Linked DNA regions of Homo sapiens: regions 1, 2 and 4 are each linked to region 3. The links are contacts of gene promoters, found by promoter capture Hi-C in blood cells and fetal thymus (Javierre and others, 2016). All regions are on one chromosome and are shown on one strand. Each heading gives the region's core, a stretch centred on a gene start or on the middle of the fragment in contact. The rest is flanking DNA. Distances are from core to core; before and after follow the strand shown.

The links. Contacts are between HindIII fragments. The CHiCAGO score rates a contact against its expected background, and 5 or more counts as called.
Region 1: a fragment that was not itself captured here is called in contact with the fragment with the promoter of ARHGAP31-AS1 in region 3 in 1 of 17 cell types (activated CD4 T cells); the score reaches 5.8 in activated CD4 T cells.
Region 2: a contact is called between a fragment that was not itself captured here and the fragment with the promoter of ARHGAP31-AS1 in region 3, in 1 of 17 cell types (activated CD4 T cells). The highest score is 5.7, in activated CD4 T cells.
Region 4: a contact is called between a fragment that was not itself captured here and the fragment with the promoter of ARHGAP31-AS1 in region 3, in 1 of 17 cell types (activated CD4 T cells). The highest score is 5.3, in activated CD4 T cells.

What each region holds. Positions count from the first base shown.
Region 1 is chr3:119,246,073-119,249,410 of GRCh38, reverse strand. All of the region lies in intron 3 of B4GALT4-AS1 (B4GALT4 antisense RNA 1), which reads right to left. Among named protein-coding and RNA genes, the nearest start is that of B4GALT4, 6.9 kb to the right of the region's middle. The HindIII fragment of the contact is 802 bases long and covers 876-1,677 here.
Region 2 is chr3:119,222,767-119,225,675 of GRCh38, reverse strand. B4GALT4 (beta-1,4-galactosyltransferase 4) reads left to right here. Exons shown (of 8, transcript NM_003778.4): 5 at 1,431-1,618. Among named protein-coding and RNA genes, the nearest start is that of B4GALT4-AS1, 2.3 kb to the left of the region's middle. RefSeq lists a silencer at 216-388. The HindIII fragment of the contact is 1,235 bases long and covers 682-1,916 here.
Region 3 is chr3:119,321,213-119,324,129 of GRCh38, reverse strand. ARHGAP31-AS1 (ARHGAP31 antisense RNA 1) reads left to right here and starts at 1,370. Exons shown (of 2, transcript NR_046748.1): 1 at 1,370-1,516. The region is part of intron 1 of ARHGAP31 (Rho GTPase activating protein 31); the gene reads right to left. RefSeq lists enhancers at 1-841, 842-1,699 and silencers at 663-1,012, 1,063-1,422. The HindIII fragment of the contact is 4,466 bases long and covers 1-2,917 here.
Region 4 is chr3:119,436,807-119,440,131 of GRCh38, reverse strand. TMEM39A (transmembrane protein 39A) reads left to right here. Exons shown (of 9, transcript NM_018266.3): 6 at 2,029-2,377; 7 at 3,154-3,325. Among named protein-coding and RNA genes, the nearest start is that of TMEM39A, 25 kb to the left of the region's middle. The HindIII fragment of the contact is 5,541 bases long and covers 1-3,325 here.

The DNA.
Region 1 (3,338 bases), core at 27-2,526, 75 kb after region 3:
TTAAATTTATTGAGACTTGTTTCATGGCCTATCATATGGACTGTCTTGGAGAATATTCTATGTGCTGATGAGAAGAATGTATTGTATATTCTGGAGTTGTTGGGCAGAATGTTCTGTAAATATCTGTTAAGTTCATTTGTTCTACAGTATAGTTTAAGTACATTGTTTCTTTGTTGAATTTCTGTCTTGATGACCTGGCTAGTGCTGTCAGCGGAGTATTGAAGTCCTCCATTATTATTGTGTTACTGTCTATCCCATTTCTTAGGTCTAGTAGTAATTGTTTTATAAATTTGGGAGCTCCAGTGTCAGGTGCATATATATGTAGAATTGTAATATCTTCCGGTTGGACTAATTGTTTTATTGTTATATAACGTCTTTCTTTGCCTATTTTTACAGCTGTTACTTTAAAATCTGTTTTGTCTGATATAAGAATAGCTACTCCTGCTTGCTTTTGATTTCCATTTGGTGAAATATCTTTTTCTACCCCTTTACCTTAAGTTTATGTGAGTCCCTATGTGTTCAGTGAGTCTCCTGAAAACAGTAGATACTTGGTTGGTGGATTTTTATCCATTTCACCATGCTGTATCTTTTAAGTGGAGCATTTAGGCCATTACATTCAACATTAGTATTGAGATGTGAGGTACTGCTCTATTCATCATTTTAGCTGTTGCCTAAATACTTTTTTTTAATTGTGTTATTGCGTTATAGGCCTTGTGAGATCTATGCTTTAAGGAGGTTCTATATTGGTGTATTTAAACATTGTATTTTAAGATTTAGAACTCCTTTTAGCATTTCTTGTAGTGCTGGTTTGGTAATGGCAAATTCTCTCAGCATTTGTCTGAAAAAACCTTTATCTCTGTTTCATTGATTAAGCTTAGTTTTGTTGGATACAAAATTCTTGGTAGACAATTATTTTCTTTAAGGAGGCTAAAGATAGGACCCCAGTCCTCTCTGGCTTCTAAGGTTTCTTTTGAGAAATATGCTGTTAATCTGATAGGTTTTCCTTTATAGGTTACCTGATGCTTTTGTCTCACAGATTTTTTTTTTTTTTTCTGAGATGATGTTTTACCCTTGTTGCCCAGGCTCAAGTGCAATGGCATGATTTCAGCTCACTGCAACCTCTCCCTCCCAGGTTCAAGCAATTCTCCTGCCTCAGCCTCCCAAGTAGCTGGGATTACAGGCATGTGCCACCATGCCTGGTTAATTTTTGTATTTTTAGTAGAGATGAGGTTTCACCATGTTGGCCAGTCTGGTCTCAAACTTCTGACCTCAGTTGATCCTCCCACCTTGGCCTCCCTAAGTCCTGGGATTACAGATGTGAGCCATCACACCCAGCCAGTCTCACAGCTTTTAAGATTCTTTTCTTTGTCTTGACTTTAGATAACCTGATGACTATGTGCCTTGGTGGTGGTCTATTTGCAATGAATTTCCCAGGAGTTCTTTGAGCTTTTTGTATTTGGATGTCTAGATATCTAGCAAGGCCATTGACGTTTTCCTCAATTATCCCCTCAAATAAGTTTTCCAAACTTTTAGATTTCTCTTCCTCAGGAATGCCAATTATTCTTAACTTCGGCCATTTAATATAATCCCATATTTCTTGCAGGCTTTGTTCATTTTTTAAAATTCTTTTTCTTTCTTTCTTTTTTTTTTTTGTCTGATTGGGTTGATATGAAAGCTTTGTCTTTGAGCTCTAAAGTTCTTTCTTCTACTTGTTCTAGTCTATTGTTGAAACTTTCCCCTGTATTTGGTATTTCTGTAAGTATGTCTTTCATTTCCAGGAGTTGTGATTGCTTTTTCATTATGATATCTATTTCTCTGAAAAATTTTCCATTCATATCCTGTATTGTTTTTTAAATTTCTTTTAAAAAAATGAAAATTTGGTTTTCATCTTTCTCTGGCTTCTCATTGAGTGGCTTAATTATCAACCCTCAGAATTCTTTATCAGCAATTCAGAGATTTTTTGTTTGTTTGTTTGGATCCATTGTTGGGGAGCTACTATATTTTGGGGGTATCATAGAACCCTGTTTTGTCATATTATCAGAATTACTTTTCTGGTTCCTTTTGGTAGACTATTTCTTCAAATTGTTCTTGAATTTATTTTTGATGGGATTGTGCTTTTTTAATTTATTTTTTCCCTCTTAAGGATTAGACCTTAATATTTATTCCAGTCTAATTTGATTCTTGGTGCTTGCAGGGGTGAAGACTCTGTATGAGTTCCTTAGTTATAGAGAGTCTTTGTGTGCTGGCTCTCCTGATGCTGATTGTAGTAGTTATGTACTTGGTATGTGGGCAAGTTCACTGTCTCCTATGAACTTGGAATGGCAGGGATCTCTTGAAGCTTATCTCATTCTCTTGTGGTCTATATTTATTTGTTTAATTTTTCCCCAGTATTTTATTTACTGAGTTGACGATTCAGGCTTCAGGCCAATAGGGGAGGTATTCTTGGGTAGGTACTAGTTGTAGCTAAAGCAGGTGAATAGATATAATCCCAATGGTGGGCTCAGGCCCCAGCCTTGATGAGGATGGCTGCGGGAGCTCACAATTTGATGTCCTGAGGTTTTATCAGGGTGAGGAGTAGGAGCTACCTCAGCTCCCTTCTCAGGTCATCAAGCTATTCACCTCACAGTCTCATTCCTGTCCCAGTGTTTCAGCTATTCAGATCAGTCAGGACCTCTTTTCATCTACAGGAATGTTGATGTTTCTTGCCTCTTGTGCAGGCTTGAATCTGGGGGGGTGCTTCTCCTGTGGGGCTTGTGCTTACCCTGGATTGTTCCAGCAAGGCTGTCTATAGCTGCCTCTATGCTGCATTCCTGTGGAAGAAGCTTCAGCTGTGTCTGCAGTGTAGTGCCAGGGGGAACAAGGATGCCTTCTCTAGTGCCCTTCATAATCACACAGGCCACCTGCCTGTTGGGGTAGAGGTGCAGACTTTCTCTACTGTACCCAGCACTGCAATTGTGTCTCTGCTGTGAGAAACTTCCCACCAGTAGAAAGATCTGGAACTCACGGCCTGGTGTTTGGATTCTTTTGTCCCATGGGGTGACCCCTTGATGTGGTGCTCTCCCTCTTCCCCTAGGAATGGGGCTTCCTGAGAGCCAGACTGAAGTGATTGTTATTCCTCTTCTGGGTCTAGCCACCCAGCTAGGCTCTGAGCTGGTGCTGGGGAATGTCTGCAAAGAGTCCTGTGATGTGATCTGTCTTCAGGTTTCCCAGCATGGATACCAACACTTGTTCTGATGGAGGTGGCAGGGGAGTGATGTAGTCTGTGAGATTTCTTGGTTGTAGATAGACTCAGTGTGCTGGCTTTCTTGAATGCTGGTTATGCTAGCGGTGAAGTTGTC
Region 2 (2,909 bases), core at 50-2,549, 98 kb after region 3:
GGGTGGATCACTTGAGGATAGGAGTTTGAGACTAGCCTGGCCAGCATAGTGAAACCCTGTCTCTACTAAAAATACAAAATACTCTGTTAAAATACTAAAAAAAAAAAAAAAATTAGTTGGGTGTGGTGGCACATGCCTGTAGTCCCAGCTACCCAGGAGGCTGAGGCAGGAGAATCACTTGAACCCAGGAGGTGGAGGCTGCAGTGAGGTAAGATCACACCACTGCACTCCAGCCTGGGCAACAGAGCGAGATTCCATCTCAAATTAAAAAAAAAGAAAAAGAGAAAGAGAAAAATATGTCTGCTTCGTGTTATTCTTATCAGGAAAACATTGTGGTAACTTCTGAGAAATACTTGCACTTTTATGATAAACCACTTAACTGGAATTCATTCTGAAGGAATTTGAATGAAGCAGCCATGAAAAAATTATTTAATTTTTTTATTACAGCTTCAATCATATTACAGGTCAAACTGTGTTCTTTTATTGCCCAGTGACGAATCTACCTCCATAAGGCCACTGTGAGGATTAGCCTCCACCAGTAGCATTATAACAGGATTCTCTTACAGGGATTTCTGAGAAACTTTAAAGTAGCTTAGAAATATTAGCAATAACTTTCTCTTTCTATAGGTTGAGATTTCTTGATCCTTTCTGGCAAGCTATTAACTAAGTCTCTTAGAAGCTTAGTGTAAATTCATAACAGAGGGTAAGATTGGGATTACCTAGGGTTGAACTGTGAAGCAGTAATACTAATTGACATGACTAGTATATAAGAAAGGTTTTGTAGTTTTATACAGAATACGTAAAGGTATTTGTAAAATTTTAAGAGAAAATTTTTTTTTGTTAACTGTGGTAAGAATATTTAACATGAGAGCTATACTCAATACATTTTAAGTGTACATTATTATTGATTATTTGAGTTATTTGTATTTTAAAGCTGCTTTTAAAAAATTTTTAATTGTGAAACACACGATGTAAAATTTACCATCTTAACTTTTTTTAACTTTTTAAAATTTTTGCTATCTTAACTATTATTGAGTGTGCAGTTTAGTAATGTTAAGAATATTTACATGCAATGTATCTATGCATAATTATGCAATATATTGGTTGCATAAATATATGCAGTGTATTTATGAAATCAATCTCCAGAACTTAATCTTGCAAAACTGGAACTCTCTATCATTAAACAACAAGTCTTTGGATTTCAAGGACTGTTTCTAAGTTCTGGAATATAAGTATGTGTGAAGCACGAAGAAAAAAATCAAATGGTCTTTTATTGTCATTGCATCTTCTCTGTCAGATCTTTATGTCACAAGTGTAGTCTCGTGCGTAGAATAATTAGAATAATACCATCTCCTGAATCCTAACTAAGAGGCAAACAATATGAAACTTTATCTCAGGAGCTTTTCAAGTTTTAATTTTCATATCTCTAGGCTGAAGGTAAAAAGTTTAATCGAGCCAAACTCTTGAATGTGGGCTATCTAGAAGCCCTCAAGGAAGAAAATTGGGACTGCTTTATATTCCACGATGTGGACCTGGTACCCGAGAATGACTTTAACCTTTACAAGTGTGAGGAGCATCCCAAGCATCTGGTGGTTGGCAGGAACAGCACTGGGTACAGGTAAGGTGGTTCTGCTGAGGGTGGCTTAGGTCGAGAAGCTCAACTATTGTGATCAAGACTGGGTGGAACAAGCATCCAGAGTGTCATAAGAAAATGAGAAATAGAAAAAATGGTCCATAATGTATGCATCACTTAAAGTGCAAAACAGAAGTTAGAGAATGTAATGAGGAAAAAGCCCTACAACTTCAGCAGAGGATCACAAAGACAAGGGAAAGCATTGGAGAGAAATATCATCCAAGCATTGCAGGTGGTGGCCAGTCTCACCCGCAGCGCCCCTGTCGGGGGGCTTTCGCAAGCTTTCCCACACTGACTAGAATGCAAGTAACTTGTTTGTCTATTCCTGACTCCCCCTCTAGGAGGCAACAGGCTGGTGTCCTTAGTGAGACCTCTGTTGAGACATCACTTTCCAGACTGTGGCCTCTTTCTAGAGTATGGGGAGAGGTGGGGGAGGGCATGTCCTCTGAGTAGTCTTCTCGGGAGCCAGGACACCCAGGACAAGTTCATTTCTCTCAAAGCCACTGTGAGAAGTGCCAGATGCCATCATCTGTGTCTTCATTCCCCATCCCCTCCACCCTTAAGAAGGGTGTAGCTGCTTTTCAGCCTTATTTGATTCACCAGCTCCTATTCAAGCACAACCAAGCGGGAATAGTGACACAGAATGTTTCTCTGCAAATGAAACACTATATTCCCTCATTTGTGTGCACACTTACCTGTCAGCTTTCCCCAGGCCCTGCTGTTCATGGGTGCTCATATCTGTGGTGCTGACTGTGCTGGAGGCCATAAGACCAGTTTGAATAAGGCAGAGCACCTGCCCTCACAGGGCTCCCCGTTGAGTGTCAGTGTGGGGAGACAGGTAGCTACAGTGGAGTTGCGTTAATTTTGCATTTCTGCAAATACAACTATAAGCACTTGGTAAGGAGGGGAGAGAGGGACAAATGAAGAGAGGAAGAAGAAGGCAGGAGAGAAAGAACTGTGAAACTATCAAATAATGCTGGAGATTCCACCAGTATGTACTCTACGTGAGTGTGAAGTGGAAAGTGAGTCTCTTGATACCTCATTTGTTCTGGGCTTCTGTGTTGCTCTCTCACTTTGGGCAATTTAAGAGAATTCTTAAGTAACATTGATGTAGGTGACTGTTGCCTCAGGTACTGACTTTAAACCCCGGCTGTGTGTAAGCTGCAGGACATAAACACCTAGAACAAACTATGGTGGGTGAGAGCACAGTGTCTTTAAGAAACACCTTGAAGGGAAGGGTTTAAAGCTGTTCCCCAGGTAAGGTGGTACCTTAATC
Region 3 (2,917 bases), core at 121-2,620:
CATACAGATGGGCATAACAGAGTCCCAGGACTTCACCCCTTCGGTGTAGAGCAGGGATGGCAGGGATGGCAAGAGCCCCACTTAGGATACCTGGAAAAAGAAATCTCCGCAGCAAAGGGTCCTTGTGCTGACTTTTCTTTTTCATTTACGAGTGTACCCTCTGTCTCCTTGGGGGCCCACCTTCTTATTCCCAGCAGGAAAGGGGAAGGGGGAGGACAGGAAATGTGGAAACCGCGTTAACAGCCTGATTGTGAACCAGCACTGCGACTGAGATGCGAGGAGGGAAGGACAAAAGTCCCTCCCTCGCTTTTCAAAAAGTAAGCCACAAAAGTTATAGAAACATTTTCTATTAAACATCATCTCCATTTTGCAGAGAACCTAAGGCTCCGAGGACTTGCCCAGGGCCATACAGCCGGTGAGCCCCAGGGCTCAGCCACAGCCCAGGTAACGAGGACAGGGCTTGCTCCAGCCACCATTGGCTGCCTCTTCGGCCTCCCTCTCTCAGGTGAGACAGTATGTCAGGTGAGGCAACTGAAACAATGTCCCTCAGTTCGGATGCATCCTCCCTCTTCGTTTCCTGTCATGAGACAGGTTTCTCCTCTTCCTGGATGTGGTTAAAAAAAAAAGAAGAAGAAAAGAAACAAAAGAAAAAAGGAAAGAAACGCAAAGCAAAGCCAAGCCCAACGTCTTGGCTCTCAGGGTTGCACCTCCTTTCTCTACCCGCGGGGTCTGGGCCGGCGGGGTGTGGCCGCAGCCCTGGGGCGCGAGAAGCCCATCCGGGCCCGAGGTGCTGGGCGGCCTGGAGCGCTGGCTGCCCCCAGGGCCGGCGGCTGTCCCTGGGGTTTCCCCGCTTCTGGGCTTTCCCCGCTTCTGGGCTCGGTGGCCGCGCGGGCGGGCGCCAAGTGACTCAGCCGTCCCCGAGGGCGTTCCGGGAAGCGGCCGGGGGCGCGGGCTTTCCTGTCGCCGCAGCGTGTGAGTCCCCAGCGCCGAAAGGGGATCAGAAACCGCTGGGCGGAGCAGCGGGAGGAAGCTGCGGCGCGCAGAGCAGAGTCAGCGCCACCGTCTTTCGAGCTGGAGCGGAGGGAACGTGGCCTTGACGTTGCTGAAGCTGAAGCGCCGGGCGGGCGCCCGGACCCCGGGGCGGGGCAGAAACGAGTCCGTTCCCTACTGCGGGGCGGGGGCAGGGCTGGAACGGGAGTTCAGGAGGGACAAGGACGTGGAAGGAGCCCAGCAGAGGGCACCCGGGACCCCCGCGGCCGGGCCGAGTTTGAAGGGAGCCCCTCTCCCCCTCCCCCTGGCGGAGCCCCCTGTAGGGTCTGACCTGGTGCCCCGCAACAGGAGCGGGAGGAGGAGCAGGCCCAGAGCGGCCGGGCCCCAGCCTAGAGGGGCGCTCGAGGGGAAGCGAGTGAAGTGAGGGCTCCGCCAGAGCAGCACCCCCTTCCCCGCCGTCCCTCCCGGACTGGCCGGTTCTCGTCAGAGATTCCTTTGTCTTCGACGCTGGTCCCTCCACACCAAGGTGGGAGGCTGAGGTGGGAGGTGGCAGAGCGGTGGGAGTGGGAGCAAGGCCGGAGCGTGGGTGGAGGCGCTGGCCGCGGGCTTGCAAGGATGGCACAAGGGAGACATCCAGGACAAACCATGGGGAACACAGCTGCCACTGAGAGAAGCTGCCCGGAGGAGGAAGGGGCTGCAAAGTTCAACCACCAGGCAAGGCAAGTCCACGAACAAAATCCCGGCTCTAAAAACAGAGCAGCAATTGTCACTGTGGGTTAGACGCTTTGAGTTACCTCTATTTTCATTTATGTCTAAGATAAATTCAAGAGACAAGGAGAAAGTCAGGAGGTTAAAATTCCAGCCTCTGGTCCCAGCTCCCTAAAGCCAGCTCCCTTCTTGTCTTTGCCAAAGTTTGCTTCTATGAATCAGTAATTAACCCCCACTTTTTTTCTTATGTCAGAGTTCCTTCAGTCACAACCAAGAGAGTTCTGACTAATAACACACCTTTTAATCCAGCAATTTTACTTCTGGGAGTTTATTCCAAAGAAATATTACATAACAAAAGAGCCATATGCCTCACAATATTCACTGTGGGCTTGTTCATAAAATTAAAACAATCATAACTATAAATGTCCAGTAATGGAGGCAGGGAATAAACTGGCATATTTATATGATAAACTACTATGGGCCGGGCGTGGTGGCTCACGCCTGTAATCCCAGCACTTTGGGAGGCTGAGGCGGGCAGATCACCCGAGGTCAGAAGTTCAAGACCAGCCTGGCCAACATGGCGAAACCCCGTCTCCACTAAAAATACAAAAACAAGTTAGCTGGGCGTGGTGGTGTGGGCCTATAGTTCCAGCTACTTGGGAGGCTGAAGCAGGAAAATCACTTGAGCCCGAGAGGTAGAGGCTTCAATGAGCTGAGATCGTGACACTGCACTCTGGCCTGGGCAACAGAGCGAGTCTCCGTCTCAAAACAAAACAAAACCTACGGAGCCTTAAAATGTTATATGTAGGGTTTTATAACTTGAATAAAGACTTCGGTTATAAGAAAGCAAGACACAAAATCATATATATATATAATATATATATACACACACACAGTGTAATCACAATATGAAAATGTACATAGAAAAAAAACACTTGAAGGAAATCCACCAAAATGTTACATCTTTGGGTGATAGAATTACATACAAGTATTTTTTTCTTTCTAAAACATTTATGTATTTCCCAATTTATCTACAATGAGGATAAGCATGTATTATTAAAAAGTATGAAAACATTGATTTTAAAATTTTACATATATAGTATATAATTATATATACATAATACATATATATATACTATATATATATATATAGTATATATATATATGTGAAATTGCTGCTGAATAGGAAATCACCGGGCCTGGGTGAAAGATGATAAAA
Region 4 (3,325 bases), core at 405-2,904, 120 kb before region 3:
ATGACCTGCTCTAGCCATCACAGATATGCACATGTGAGAGATTTTTGTCTAATACTTCTTCTCTGTCTGGGTGCGGTGGCTTACACCTGTAATCCCACCACTTTGCAAGGCCCAGGCGGTAGGATCACTTGAGCTCAGGAGTTCAAGACCAGCCTGAGCAACATAGGGAGACCCTGTTTCTACCAAAAATAAAATAATTAGCCGCGTGTAATGGCATGCGCCTGTAGTCCTAGCTACTTAGGAGGCTGAGGCGGGAGAATTGCGTGAGCCCAAGAAGTTGAGGCTTCAGTGAGCCGTAATCTCGCTACTGTACTCCAGTCTGGGTGACAGAGTAAGACCTTGTCTCAAAAAAAAAAAAATTAGAATTAATACTTCTACTTCTACCCACTCTTGTCCTCCCAAGGGCACATTCACAGTAGATCCCAGAGCTAATGCTAAGAATGTTCTTAATTAGTAACATCAGTTCTCCCTCTGTAGAAAACTATGGATAAGTGTCATCTGTTCATTTTGTTATAAAATGTATAACTAAATATCTTTTTTTTTTTTTTTTTTGAGAAGGAGTTTCACTCTTGTTGCCCAGGGTGGAGTGCAATGTGCAGTCTCGGCTCACTGCAACCTCCACCTCCAGGGTTCAAGTGATTCTCCTGCCTCAGCCTCCGAGTAGCTGGGATTGCAGGTGCGCGCCACCACACCCAGCTAATTTTTGTATTATTAGTAGAGACAGAGTTTTACCATGTTGACCAGGCTGGTCTTGAACTCCTGACCTCAGGTGACCTGCTCGCCTTGGCCTCCCAAAGTGCTGGGATTATAGGCATGAGGGACTGTCCCTGGCCCTAAATATCTTTTTATTTGCTATTTTTCATATCTGAATTTATGTGCATGAAATGACCATTTAATTTATAATACCTAGGTCACAATGTGGAAATTACTTAATGAGGACTTGAAGTATTTAAACAAATTTTAAGGAACCAACAGTTGGAATACTATAAGAAGTTATCAGAAGTCTCAAAAATGTTCACTTCTTTAACCAATTAATTTTACTGGTAGAAATTCATTTGTACTTCCAGAATTTTTTTTTATTAATGAGAAGTTTATTGCATACTTAAACAGTGTTACAGCCACTATCTGAGGTACCAGAGTTACAGCAGTGAATTAATTACGTTGAAATCTCTGGTTCATAGAGCTTAAATTGTAGTGAAGGGAAGATTGACTAAGAAAGAAAACAAACAAAACTACCCCCAAAGTTAAAAATCGAATAAACATGGTAAGATCTGTGGAGAAAAATAAGCAGGAAAGGAGAAGAAGGGTCGCCTGTGGGAGTGGGATGGGTGATACAGTAGGGAGGCAGGAGGGCCCCCTACTAAGAAAGGGACATTTGAAGTAAAGAACAAGCTGTACTAAAATGACCAAACGTACACACGTATTGGGAAAATCCTTATCACATTGTTATTTATAGTAGTGGAAAATAAGAAACAGCCTGTTTCCAACAAGAGAGAAATGGGTAAATTATGGTATTTCTATATGAGAATACTATTGTATCTTTAAAAATTTCTATAGAAAAATATTTAGACTTGAGAAAATACTCACTACACAGGGAAAATACTCAATATACACACATGCACACATACAAAGTTTAAACAGCAGGATACAAAACACATGGTACTGTATGAAGCCAAACACAAAAGGAAAAAAGCATATGTAACTATAATACAAAGTTTACAAACTTTATATTGGAAATATGTGCATCTAGTTATAAAAATGATTATTGCTAAGTGATGTGTGTTTTGCCATTGTGGTTTTTCTGTAGGTTCTTAATAATCTACAATGAATGTGCACTGCTCTTATGGAAAGAAATTGAAGAGCTCCCCAGATAATGAATTTACTATCAGCAATGTCCCTCTTGAGTTATGTTTACTCCTGCGGGTCCTGACTATTTTATTGACCTAAGTTATAAGTTATATTGACGTAAGTTATAAGGTGTGATTTTAGGTGGTATCTGTGGTCTCATTTTCACACTTTGTTTTACAGGTTTGGTGTTTATGTTCCTCTTTGCTGTTTTCATCAAGATAGTAGAGCACATCTTCTTCTCACAGACTACAACTATGTGGTTCAGCACGAGGCAGTAGAGGAAAGTGCCTCGACTGTGGGAGGCTTGGCCAAATCCAAAGACTTTCTCTCCTTGTTGCTGGAGTCGCTAAAAGAACAGTTTAATAATGCCACACCCATCCCCACCCACAGTTGTCCCCTATCTCCAGACCTCATTCGCAATGAAGTAGAATGTCTGAAAGCAGATTTCAACCACAGAATCAAGGAGGTTCTCTTCAACTCCCTCTTCAGTGCCTACTATGTTGCATTTCTCCCCCTGTGTTTTGTGAAGGTAAGTGGTTATCTTACTTTTATGTGCTTCCTGGATTTGTGTGTGAATTACATAAACTGGGTATTTCTTGTTTAATCCCCCTTTTCTCTGTCTCCCCTTTGGCAGCCTGGATGGTGGAGTTCGGCTGCATCTGGAGTGCACTAATACCGCTCCTGGTTGGCGGATAGGTATTTCCATATATGTGATGCACCCGTGGTGGTTCCCTCTTTTTTTCTTTTTTTTTTTTTTTTTAAGTATTTTTAGTTTCTGGGGAGAATCAAAATGTACTTATAATAGAATCAGTATGTAGTAGCTTAAGAGGACCAAGGTTTCAGTAAAACTCAGCCTACTGTGGTTGATCTTAACATGGTTATCAGGAGTTTCCTTGAATTTAATCTAGCCCTTATCTAAACTTCAGTTTACTTTAATAGAAAAGAAAAATGGTCTGGATGTCACTTGGGCCCAAAATCTTTTGGTACATTTTAGTGCCCTTTCTTCACCCATTCAGAAGTACTTCTGCAGCTGGAATGGTCCTTCAGAGAACACTCAGTTCTTCTAGAAAGGAGACACTTAAAATATAATTGCCTCTCCCTCCCATCCCTAACTCATACAGCCAGAAAGTCAGGTTGAAGGATTGTGGAGGACTCTGCTCTTGAACTTTTCTGCACGGACAGCAGGACCACCAGTGCATGTGTGACTCAGTGTGGCATTTGTCTGCAGGGCATATGTACACCAACCCATCCCTGCCTCTTTTTACCAGTGCATGGATCATTTCTCTCTCTTCTGATCTCTTCCAGAGTACCCAGTACTATGACATGCGCTGGTCATGTGAGCACCTCATTATGGTGTGGATCAATGCTTTTGTCATGCTCACCACGCAACTGTTGCCATCCAAATACTGTGATTTGCTACATAAATCAGCTGCTCACCTGGGCAAGTGGCAGAAGTTGGAACATGGGTCCTACAGCA